Regions from separate parts of the Homo sapiens genome. Here region 2 is linked to region 1. The links are contacts of gene promoters, found by promoter capture Hi-C in blood cells and fetal thymus (Javierre and others, 2016). All regions are on one chromosome and are shown on one strand. Each heading gives the region's core, a stretch centred on a gene start or on the middle of the fragment in contact. The rest is flanking DNA. Distances are from core to core; before and after follow the strand shown. Region 1 holds the start of IP6K1 (inositol hexakisphosphate kinase 1). Region 2 overlaps RBM6 (RNA binding motif protein 6).

Region 1 (5,973 bases), core at 212-2,711:
GAGAAATGTGTTTTGGAGCAATGAGAACTCTTCCTAGACCTGCACACTCTACTGAGGATCTCCAACTTGCCCAAATTCACAGGAAAGGGGCTTGAAGGTGTTTTCACTGAGCAAGATAATTTTAGTACTGTTAAAAGTTAATTTGCGCCGGGCATAGTGGCTCACACTTGTAACCCCAGCACTTTGGGAGGCCAAGGGGGGTGGATCACGAGGTCAGGAGTTCGAGACCAGCCTGGCCAACATGGTGAAACCCCGTCTCTATTAAAAATACAAAAATTAGCCGGGCATGGTGGCGCGTGTCTGTAGTCCTACCTACTCGGGAGGCTGAGGCAGGATAATCGCTTGAACCCGGGAGGTGGAGGCTGTGGTGAGCCGAGATCGCGCCACTGCACTCCGGCCTGGGCAACAGAGCGAGAGACTCTGTCTCAAAAGAAAAAAAAGAAAAAAAACAGTTAATTTGCCAGTTCCATATCATCCACAACAAAAACAAGTTTCTTTTTCCGATTCTAAGACACTCCTACGTTTCCTTTGTCTCCTATGGCGAGCATCCCTTTAGGAGATAAAATCAAGTCATCACCATAATACTCACTTTCTCCTAAAGCAAAAAGAGGAAGACATTACCACTCTCCAAAAAGTGGTGGTGAAGAACCAAAGAAATTATGTTCCAAAATAAAACTCAGCCATTATGGACATTTAACCAGGTTCTTTGCGAGGAAAACGGTGAGCTTCGAGGTACACGTGAGGTTCCGAACGGGTCTCAGGAAGCAGCAGCCAGGCAGAGGGTCCCCCTTGCCATAATCATAGGGCCGTGACACCGGCCTGCCTGGCTCGCGGGGGCTTTGGCTTGCTTCGTCTAGTCTTAGCATCCAGCGTCCTGAAAATCACTCGCAGGAACGCTATCTAAGAAAGAGGTAAGTCTATTTCTCAGCCAGGAGCAACATAACTCCCAGGAGAGCATCAGGGTGGCACCGGACACACTTTAGCGCTCCGGATCAGCGGAGTCCAGAGCTTCGGTCAGAGAAGCTGGTTTCCCGCTACTAGCCGGCCAACCCTCAGGCACTGGCGCTCTCCGTCCTCCACACCGGCTGTCCCCCCGGCTTCGGTGCCAGCATCTGGGAGGCTCGGCGGGCGGCCGGTCAGGACGCTCGAGCGATGTTCCAGTGATGGCCCCACCGGAGCCCCGACCCCACACGCGCCCACTCCAACCCCGCGCCCGCCACCGCCCTCCCCGCGGGCGTCAGGCCGGTCTATCGGCCCGGCTCCTGTCACTCACCTGCCCGGCCCGGGCACCGAGCGCCCACGGCTCCCTACGGGAGCTGGGCCCCCCGGGCCTCCAGGTTTCGGCCCGCCCCCTGGCAGGCAGCACAGGTGGCTGAGCACCGCTACAGCGGCCTCTCACCGGCCGCTTGGTCCAGCTCCCGGCGCTGCCCACTGGGTACGGATCAACAACAAGATGGCGGCTAGCCGAGGGGGCGGGGGCCGGGCGTCATAGTAACCAGGACTGCAAAGAACCCGCCCCCGAGGGGGTGCTATCCCCAATCAACAGTCTTTTTGCTCGTCGCCAGGGGAAGTGCTTCCTGCTGACAGGTCAGCTCACGTGTCAGTCAGAGTCTGCCTCTCAGGGCCTCTGCCGAAAGCGTGGGGCACGTGACTGTGACGGCATGGGTTGGCGCATGCGCTTCGTTCCCGGAGTGGCTGGCGGCGGAGTTTTCGCTGGCTACTACGAGGCCGGAGCGCCCTTGGCCTCTCTGCGTCCCTGGCCCTCGTGCGGTACCGGCGGCGTCTTGTCATACACTTGCGCACACACAGGGAATCTCAGCGGTGTGCTATTCGTTTTTTTGTCCCCCACTCTGGGAGAAGGGGGGTGCAGCCCCCAGTTCACTCTGGAGAGGAAACTGAGGCTCAGAGAGGGGAGGCCGAGCCAAGGTCACGCCACCTCTAGAAATGGAGGTGCTGGGTCTCGCACCTCCTCCTGCTGGTTTCAGAGTGTGAGGAGCCTCTATCCCAGCTTCCCACGCTTTGTCCCTTACTAGCCTCGAGGTACCGCAGTCTGTGCTGCCACAGCAGCCTCTGGCTCATTGCCCATGCTTTCCTGCCTGAGGTTTAGAGCCTAGCACAAGTCCTGACACACAGCGGGCACTCCCTTTTCTCTTCCCTAGAGCATCTTGTCTTGAGATCCTGTGACAGCATCTTTTGCCCTGGACTGTCATGACCGGCCTCCCAAGCAGACTAATGGTCCCAGGAAGATGGTCACACCTTGCTCCCCATACAGAACACCTAACTCTGGGCTTGGCTTCAGGCTTAGAACAACAGATGAAGTTACGTGGCCTGGGCCCACACCCAAATGCCCCAACTAGCTAACTCTGACTTTTGAGCCTTAGCCTCTCTTTAGCTTTGGTTGTCCCATCTGTAAAATGAAGATAAAAGTGGAGCTTCTCAGAGGAAGATTTAATGAGCCCTCAGAGCAGGGGAAGAACTCAGGAAAAATCTGCCTACAACCACTTCCTGGAACAACCTGCTTCCAAGTTGCTGTTCCTGAGGCGTGCCTTAAAACACTAACTTTGGTGGAAGCCCCATGAAGCGTTTTTGTTTTGCTTTGTTTTGTTCCCACAGAAGGCTTTCAGCTTCTTCCTGGCCCTGGGATACCATAACTGGTTCAGAAGGGGAGGTCCTCCTAGCTAGGCGCAGTGGCTCATGCCTGTAATCCAGCACTTTGGGAGGCCAAAGAAGGTGGATCACTTGAGGTCAGAGGTTCGAGACCAGCCTGGCCAAAATGGTGAAACCCTGTCCCTACTAAAAATACAAAAATTAGCTGGACGTGATGGCAGGTGCCTGTAATCCCAGCTACTCAGGAGGTTGAGGCAGGAGGATCACTTGAACCTGGGAGGCAGAGGTTCAGTGAGCTGAGATCACGCCACCACACTCTAGCCTGGGTGACAGAGCAAAATTCTGTCTCAAAAAAAAAAAAGGGAGGTTCTCCAGTACCCTGAGGGGGTTCAGGCCCACAGACTCAACAGACGAGTAAAGACTGTGATAACTTGGATTTACCACAGTAAGGTCCTCTTGGAGAGCTGGCAGAAGCCTGAGACCTGATGTCAGGTTGGGCATGGAGAGTGGGCCAACACTGCATCCAGCAAGACCTGCCCACCAGCAGATTGCTGCAGGCCACTTGGCTACATGCAATAGCTCAGGTCAACACAGGGAGATGTGAGAGCAGAGGAACCAGAAGAAACAGATCAGGAAGAAAAGCCAACAACCCTCAAAAGGGGGATTCTGCTAATCCTCCAGGACCAGCCATGCCACAGGATTCTCAAGTCTGCATCACCCCTCACCGCAGTGCAAAAGCTCCAGATCCTTCCCAAGAAAACCTCCACATACAGTTGGCAAATTGCCCTGAAGTTTGATGGGACCCTCAAAAAGCAACAGTGGTATAACTACTGTGGATAACAGTTCGGAGGTTCCTCAGAAAACTAAAAATACAGCTACCACATGATCCAGCAATCCCACTGCTGGGTATGTACCCAAAGGAAAGGAAATCAGTATATCAAAAAGATATCTGCACTTCCATGTTTGCTGCAGTGCCATTCACAATAGCCAAGATTTGGAAGCAACCTAAGTGTCCATCAACAGGTGAATGGATAAAGAAAATATGGTACATATGGGCCGGGTGCGGTGGCTCACGCCTGTAATCCCAGCACTTTGGGAGGCCGAGGCGGGCGGATCATGAGGTCAGGAGATGGAGACCATCCTGGCTAACACGGTGAAACCCCATCTCTACTAAAAATACAAAAAATTAGCCGGGCGTGGTGGCAAGCGCCTGTAGTCCCAGCTACTCAGGAGGCTGAGGCAGGAGAATGGCGTGAACCCAGAAGGCGGAACTTGCAGTGAGCCGAGATCACGCCACTGTGCTCCAGCCTGGGCAACAGAGCGAGACTCCATCTCAAAAAAAAAAAAAAGAAAAGAAAATATGGTACATATGCAGAATGGAATATTATTCAGCCATTAAAAAGAATGAGATTGTGAGATTGGCTGGTGCGGAGGCTCATGCCTGTAATCCCAGCACTTTGGGAGGCTGAGGCAGGAGGATCACCTGAGGTCAGGAGTTCAAGACCAGCCTGGCCAACATAGGAAAACTCCATCTCTACTAAAAATAAAAAATAAAAAAATTAGCCGGCATGGTGGTGCACACCTGTGGTCCCAGCTACTCAGGAGACTGAGGCACGAGAATTGCTTGATCATGAGAGGCGGAGGTTGCAGTGAGCCAAGATCGTGCCACTGTACTCCAGCCTGGGTGACAAAGTAAGACTACATCTCAAAAAAAAAAAAAAGGAAAAAGATTTAAACAAAACAATTGAATTCATGGAGATAGTGAGTAGAAGGATAGTTACCAGAGTCTGGAAGGGGTGGGGAGGTGGGACGGTTAATGGGTACCAAAAAAAAAGAAAAATGAATAAGACCTAGTGTTTGATAGCACAACAGAGTGACTGTAGTCAATAATAACTTAATTGTACAGTTTAAAATAACTGAAAGAGTATAATTGGATTATTTGTAACACAAAGGATAAATGCTTTAGGGGATGGATGCCCCATTTTCGATGAGGTGATTATTAACCATTACATGCCTTATTAAAACATCTCATGTACCTCCAAATTTATACACCTATGTACCCACAAAAATTAAAAATTAAGAAAAAAATTAAAAAGAGAAACATCTCAACAACAACAACAACAAAAGCAACAGTGAGCTAGGCACGGTGGCTCACACCTATAATCCCAGCACTTTGGGAGGCTGAAGGGGGAGGATGGCTTGGACCCAGGAATTCAAGACCAGCCTGGTCAACATAGAGAGATCCCATCTCTACAAAAAAATTAAAAATTAGCCAGGCATGGTGGTCCATGCCTGTAGTCCCACCTACTTGGGATTCTGAGTAGGAGGATCGATTGAGCCTGGGAGGTCAAGGCTACAGTGAGCCACAATCACACCGTTGCACTCCAGCCTGGGCAACAAAGCCAGACAGCCAGACCCTATCTTTCTCTCTCTCTCTCTCTCTCTCTCTCTCTCTCTCTCTCTCTCTCTCTCTCTCTCTCTCCCCCTCTCTCCCTCTCCCCGCCCCCTCTCTCCTTCACACACATGCGCGCGCGCGCGCGCACACACACACACACACACACACACACACACACACACGCAGCATTGTTCTCTCTCTTCTGGATAGGAAAAGGAAGCAGGTGGCCCTGAGGAGACATGCTGATTGGAGGCCCCTCAGTCACTGACAAGGATGATAGCCTATTACTTCTATAGAGCATCAGTCACACTGTCAGTCTGAGCATCACACAATACCTTCTTAAAAGAAAAATAAAGCCAGGTGCAGTGGTGCGCCCATCGTCCCAGCTACCCAGGAGGCTGAGATGAGAGGCTCTCTTGAAGCCAGGAGTTAGACGCTATAGTGTGCTATGATAACACCTATGAATAGCCTCTGCATTCCAACCTGGGCACCATAGTGAGACCCTGTCTAAAAAAAAAAAACCCTGAAAGAGAAAAGGAAAACCTTACTGCTCCCTAGAGTCTGCTCACAAGGTAGGGAGTTGTCCAAGTGAGAACAAGGAGGCACAGATTTCAGAGCTTCTCCCACACGTTGGCTACAAGGCTAGAACTTTTCTTTTTGTAATTTTGTTTATTATGAATCAACTTGAAAATACAGCCCATGATGGTGTGAAAAAGAAATTCCACACATAGTAAGACAGCTACTTGGCCTCAGAGCCAGCGCCGGGCTCCTGTGTGTGTGTTAAACAGGTAGTCTCTTCCGGTACCTAAAACCGGTAGGAGAGAGAGGAGAGCAGGGGGTGCTGCTGGCCCCAGAAGAACTGCCTCCCTCCCCCTTACTTAAGGGTAGGAGATTATTCCTCCAGGACCCTCAGTGTGACATCCCACCTTCGCTGGAATCTAACCTGTCCCCTCCCTCCCTTCTCAGCAAAT
Region 2 (6,056 bases), core at 811-3,310, 280 kb after region 1:
ACTGTTGCCTATATGGAAAATCAGTGCCTTGTGGCAATACAGGTAAGAACAGTGTTGCTCTTGAAAAAGTGGACAGTGGGTGGTCTGAATGTGTCCTGGTCCCTGGAGTGGGTTTTTAGATTGATGTGGACTCTTCTTAGACTTGTAAGTAAAAAAGTTGTTTCTTCCCCTAAAAGGGAACTGTGCGCCTTAGACCTGGAATTGCTGGGAAACTGAAACATTCTGTAGACTTACTTGTTTCCAACTGTATCGCAGCAAGAAGTCTATGTGCCCCAGGATCCTGGATTACCTGAGGAAGAAGAGATCAAGGAAAAAAAACCCACCAGTCAAGGAAAGTCAAGTAGCAAGAAGGAAATGTCTAAAAGAGATGGCAAGGAGAAAAAAGACAGAGGAGTGACGAGGGTAAGAGGAATTGTTAATTTGCTGTCTTTTGCCACATAGTTATTAAAATGTTGGAGGTACGAACAGAGGATATCTATGTTTGCAAGTGTAAAGTAACTTTAAAAATACTCTGTCAGCCGGGCGTGGTGGCTAACGCCTGTAATCCCAGCACTTTGGGAGGCCAAGGCGGGCGGATCATGAGGTCAGGAGATCGAGACCATCCTGGCCAACATGGTGAAACCCCTGTCTCTACTAAAAATACAAAAATTAGCTGCGTGTGGTGGTACACGCCTGTAGTCCCAGCTACTCAGGAGGCTGAGGCAGGAGAATTGCTTGAACCCTGGAGGCAGAGGTTGCAGTGAGCCGAGATCGCGCCACTACACTCCAGCCTGGCAACAGAGCAAGACTCTGTATCAAAAAAAAAAAAAAAACCTCTGTTAATGAGTATTTTTACCTGGTGTAGGCAATTCCCTCACCTCTTATATCCCAACTCTCTCTTTTACAAATGGGAAAACTATGGATGGTAGAACAAAGTGGCCCAGCTCAAATCCCAACACCTCAGCTCCATACATTTTCACTTTTCTACATTCCTTTTTTAGTGTTTGACTTTATACACATTTCTCTAGTTGTAATTATAGCAGGAGATACTGTTTAGTCACTTTTTATCCTAAGTATTTTTTCCATGTTTCTATATACTCTATTATTTTTAATGCCCACATGGTAAAAATTCACGGTATAACTGTACCTTCATTTTCTTCATCTCTCCTACATTATTTGTCTTCTCTTTCTAATCTTTTCTTTTTCCTTTTTTTTTTTTTTTTTCTGAGACAAAGTCTTCCTCTGTCTCCCAGGTTGGAGTGCAGTGGCATGATCATAGCTCACTTCTACGTCAAACCCATGGGCTTAAGCAGTCCTCCCACCTCAGCCTCCCAAGTAGCGGGGACTACAGGCATGAGCCACCATGACCAGCTAATTTTTGCTTTTTTGTAGAGACAGGATCTTGCTAGATTGACCAGGCTGATCTCGAACTTCTGGCCTCAAGTAAGCTTCCTGTCTCAGTCTCCCAAAGTGCTTCAGTTACAGGCAAGACCCACCTTGCTCGCCTCTTTCTAATCTTATACTGTCATAATATATAACATTTAGCATTTTGTTTCTTCTTTTAAATTACTCCCTATGACACATTTTCAGAATCAGAGATGATGAACATTTTTACATCTAATACAAAATCAAATTATTAGGCAGGGTGCAGTGGCTCACACCTGTAATCCCAGCACGTTGGGAGGCCAAGACAGGTGGATGCCTGAGTTTAGGAGTTTGACACCAGCAACATGGTGAAACTCCATCTCTACCAAAAATACAAAAAAAATTAGCCTACTGTGGTGATGCATGCCTGTAGTCCAAGCTACTTGGGAGACTGAGTTAAGAGGATCGCTTGAGCCCAGGAGATTGCAGTGAGCTGTGATTGCGCCACTGCACTCCAGCATGGACAACAGAGCCAGACTTGTCTCAAAAAAAAAAAAAAAAGAAAATCTGCCGGGCATGGTGGCTCATGCCTGTAATCCCAGCACTTTGAGAGGCCAAGGCAGGCGGATTACTTTAGGTCAGGAGTTTGAGACCGCCTAGCCAATATGGTGAAACCCCCATCTCTACTAAAAAGACAAAAATTAGCTGGACGTGGTGGCGCAAGCCTGTAGTCCCAGCTACTCAGGAGGCTGAGGCAGGAGAATCTCTTGAACCTGAGAGGCAGAGGTTGCAGTGAGCCAAGATCACACCTACCTTGATATCAGTTATGCATTAGTGAAAATGGATGAATTTGCTTGTGATTCAATTCATAACACCTTTTTTTCCCTTTTTTTTCTTTTGAGACGGAGCCGCTCTGTCGCCCAGGCTGGAGTGCAGTGGCGTGATCTATCTCGGCTCACTGCAACCTCCGCCTTCCAGGCTCAAGGGATTCTCCTGCCTCAGCCTCCTGAGTAGCTGGGATATCAGGCGCTGCCACAACGCCCAGCTAATTTTTGTATTTTTAGTAGAGACGCGGTTTCACCATGTTGGTCAAGCTGGTCTCGAACTCCTGACCTTGTGATCCGCCCACCTCAGCCTACCAAAGTGCTGGGATTACAGGCATGAGCCACTGCGCCCAGCCTTTTTTTCCCCTTCTAACACTGTTAGTTGTTTAGAGATACAGAAAAGAGGAGAGAGAGTGTGTGTGTGTGTTTAAAAACTTAGAGTCATACTGATTTAATATTTGGACTCTGCTTCAGCCACTTAATCTGTCAAACTATATTCCCAATCATTTGTAAAATTAAGATAGTAAAGCTTACATAGGAGGATCATAGTAAAGTCTGAAGAAGACAATGTTTATATATACATGCCTCATCTGGTCTGACATACAGTAATCATGCAATATATACTAACGTTTTATTTTATTTTATTTTATTTTTTGAGACAGAGTCTCTCTCTGTCACCCAGGCTGGAATGGAGTGGCACGATCTCGGCTCACTGCAACCTCTGCCTCCCAGGTTCCAGCAGTTCTTCTACCTCAGCCTCCCAAGTAGCTGGGATTACAGGCCAAAACCACCACACCCAGCTAATTTTTGTATTTTTACTAGAGACGGGGTTTCACCATGTTGGCCAGGCTGGAGCACAGTGGCACAATCTTGGCTCACTGCAAGCTCCGCCTCTCGGGTTCATTCTCCTGCCTCAGCCTCCCTACTAACTGGGACTACAGGTGCCCGCCACCACGCCCAGCTAATTTTTTGTATTTTTAGTAGAGATGGAGTTTCACTGCATTAGCCAGGGTGGTCTCGATCTCCTGACGTTGTGATCCACCTGCCTTGACCTCCCAGAGTGCTGGGATTATAGGCGTGAGCCACCGCACCCAGCCCAGCCTTTATCAGTTATTATGAGTGAATATCATGTGAGAGTTACCTCTGGTTTGATCAGTTTCAGGAAAATGCCAGTGAAGGGAAGGCCCCTGCAGAAGACGTCTTTAAGAAGCCCCTGCCTCCTACTGTGAAGAAGGAAGAGAGTCCCCCTCCAGTAAGACCAACATTGATCCCCTGGACCTAGGGCTGGGGCTGGGGATGGTTCCGAGTAGAAGAGGAAGCGCAAAGGCTGATGCCTTCCTCTGGTGTTGGTCTTTTACCTCACTATGTCTCCCGAATAAGGATTCCCATTTCTTTTGAGTACAAGCATGAGATAAAGTTTTCTGTCTGCTAATGGGGGTATTACTGGAGAACCAGAGGCAGTTATCTGGACTCTTTCTCTCTGCCCTGTGCCATTCTTACCAGACGAGATGCCTAGCCCTTTTTATCATCTTGTTCTTGTCAGTTCTCTAAATCACCAAGGAAACCCGTTTTCTCAGCCTCAATCTTTCCTGCCTTTTGGCATCACACAAGAATCTCTTAGATATGGAGTGCATGCGTGGTCATTTTTTTATAGTTTCTGCCTGTTCAGAGTGAATGATGCTAATATTGGTGCCCATTTTTTAGATGCCTTCAAGCAGTAGTCTCAACCTAATCACCAGTGATTCTGATTGAATGCAGGTATATAACAATAGTGACCATGCATTATTTATTTATTTTGAGTGATCATAGACCAATGATTATGCATCATTATTTAACAGTTCTTATAAGGTACCCTTTTCCTGCTCCGCATTATTAATTCAGCTCATTGTGGCATCTGTCTTAACCATGCTTTGCCTTTACCTTACATGTGAGCTGGATCTGTCTACCCAAGTGCCTATTAATGCAGTTGCTTTTAGTTTACTTCCTAAATCCTCTTTGCTAGAGTCTTAATGAAAGTCATCTTTTCTTCCCTCCATGAGTTACAGTAATTTGGAGGTATTTATCTCTTCCTCTTTGTAATTTGTAACCTTTTACTATTTTCTATGTTTATTTTCCTTTCTCTTCCTTCTCCTCACATTCTGTTGCTAGAGTCACTTCTAAAGGAATCTTTCTTGTTTATTCTTAATGAACAAGGAGCAAAGCCAAGCTCTGGCCATGTTGCTTTCATCTGGGAAATGAGCAGCATGGCTAGTGAGTTTATTTTGAACCCAATTCAATGAAATGAGATGCCCATATCAGAATATCAAAAAAAATGGACCCCAAAATATAGGTTGAATTTGGTATTGATCCCTGGCCTTCTCCTTCCAGCCTAAAGTGGTAAACCCACTGATCGGCCTCTTGGGTGAATATGGAGGAGACAGTGACTATGAGGAGGAAGAAGAGGAGGAACAGACCCCTCCCCCACAGCCCCGCACAGCACAGCCCCAGAAGCGAGAGGAGCAAACCAAGAAGGAGAATGAAGAAGACAAACTCACTGACTGGAATAAACTGGCTTGTCTGCTTTGCAGAAGGCAGTTTCCCAATAAAGAAGTTCTGATCAAACACCAGCAGCTGTCAGACCTGCACAAGGTATTAGGGGAAGGAGCTATGCCCTTTCAAACTGTTGACTCTTGGCCGGGCTTTGTGGCTCATGCCTGTAATCCTAGCACTTTGGGAGGCCGAGGCGGGTGGATTGCCTGGGCTCAGAAGTACAAGACCAGTCTGGGCAACATGGTGAAACCCCCTTTGTACTAAAATACAAAAAATTAGCCAGGTGTGGTGTTGTGTGCCTGTAGTCCCAGCCACTCGGGAGGCTGAGGCAGGAGAATTGCTAGAACCTGGGAGGCAGAGGTTGCAGTGAGCCGAGATCGTGCCACTGCACTCCAGCCTGGGTAACAGAGCAAGACTCCATCTCTTAAAAAACAAAACAAAACAAAACTGTTGACTCATATTATTGATGGGGATTATGGGGAATAAAAAAGATTATTTAGGCCGGGCCTAGTGGTTTACACCTGTAATCCCAGCACTTTGGGAGGCCAAGGCACCTAGGTAGATCACTTGAGATCAGGAGTTTGAGACCAGCTTGGCCAACATGGTGAAACTGTCTCTACTAAAAATACAAAAATTACCTGGATGTGGTGGCGCATGCCTGTAATCCCAACTACTTGGGAGGTTGAGGCAGGAGAATCGCTTGAACCTGGGAGGCAAAGGTTGCAGTGAACCGAGATCACACCACTGCACTCCAGCCTGGGTGACAGACCAAGACTCTATCTCAAAAAAAAAAAAAAAAAAAAAAAAAAGCCGCAGCAGCTTATACAATCCTTCCTCAGTGTATATCAGCCCCAGTTCCTATCATTAAAACAGTCCAATTCAAGAATGAATTGCTCTGGATTAAGGTTATGCCTACCCTCAAAGAACTTCCATGTATAGGCCGAAGCCAAGCATTATGACTGTGGCTAGGGTGCCAAATATGGAGGATGGGTAGGAAGAGAAAGGGTTGTGGAATAGGACATTACTTGCTGGGTTTCTCATCTTAGCTGTGTCATTAACGTTACAGTTGGACCTCAGATAAGCCCCTTTTCTTCTTTGGTCCTTGTAACTTCATCTGATTCTATCCAGCTCTGACAGTGTGCAGTTTTCACCATAGGTGAGTCAAATTCTGCCATTTCTTCATGTAGTGAATATTGTTATGAGCCACAGCACAACATCTATACTTGGGATGTTAAACCGACATACATTGGTCTTCCCCTGTAGTATTCCCATTTATATGAACTGACCAAGGATCCAAATTATGGACAAATAAAGTCCCTAAATGGACTCACATTCTCAGAGCAATTTGTTTCACACCCC

What was found. Contacts are between HindIII fragments. The CHiCAGO score rates a contact against its expected background, and 5 or more counts as called.
Region 2: a contact is called between a fragment that was not itself captured here and the fragment with the promoter of IP6K1 in region 1, in 1 of 17 cell types (endothelial precursors). The highest score is 6.5, in endothelial precursors.

What each region holds. Positions count from the first base shown.
Region 1 is chr3:49,785,081-49,791,053 of GRCh38, forward strand. IP6K1 (inositol hexakisphosphate kinase 1) reads right to left here and starts at 1,462. Exons shown (of 6, transcript NM_153273.4): 1 at 1,274-1,462. CDHR4 (cadherin related family member 4) reads right to left here. Exons shown (of 19, transcript NM_001007540.4): 19 at 5,652-5,807. The coding sequence ends at 5,752. RefSeq lists silencers at 1,076-1,425, 2,161-2,325, 3,106-3,315 and enhancers at 1,140-1,829, 1,916-1,985. The HindIII fragment of the contact is 18,469 bases long and covers 1-5,973 here.
Region 2 is chr3:50,061,707-50,067,762 of GRCh38, forward strand. It overlaps RBM6 (RNA binding motif protein 6), which reads left to right. Exons shown (of 21, transcript NM_005777.3): 15 at 256-402; 16 at 3,325-3,420; 17 at 4,536-4,796. Among named protein-coding and RNA genes, the nearest start is that of RBM5, 24 kb to the right of the region's middle. The HindIII fragment of the contact is 1,270 bases long and covers 1,426-2,695 here.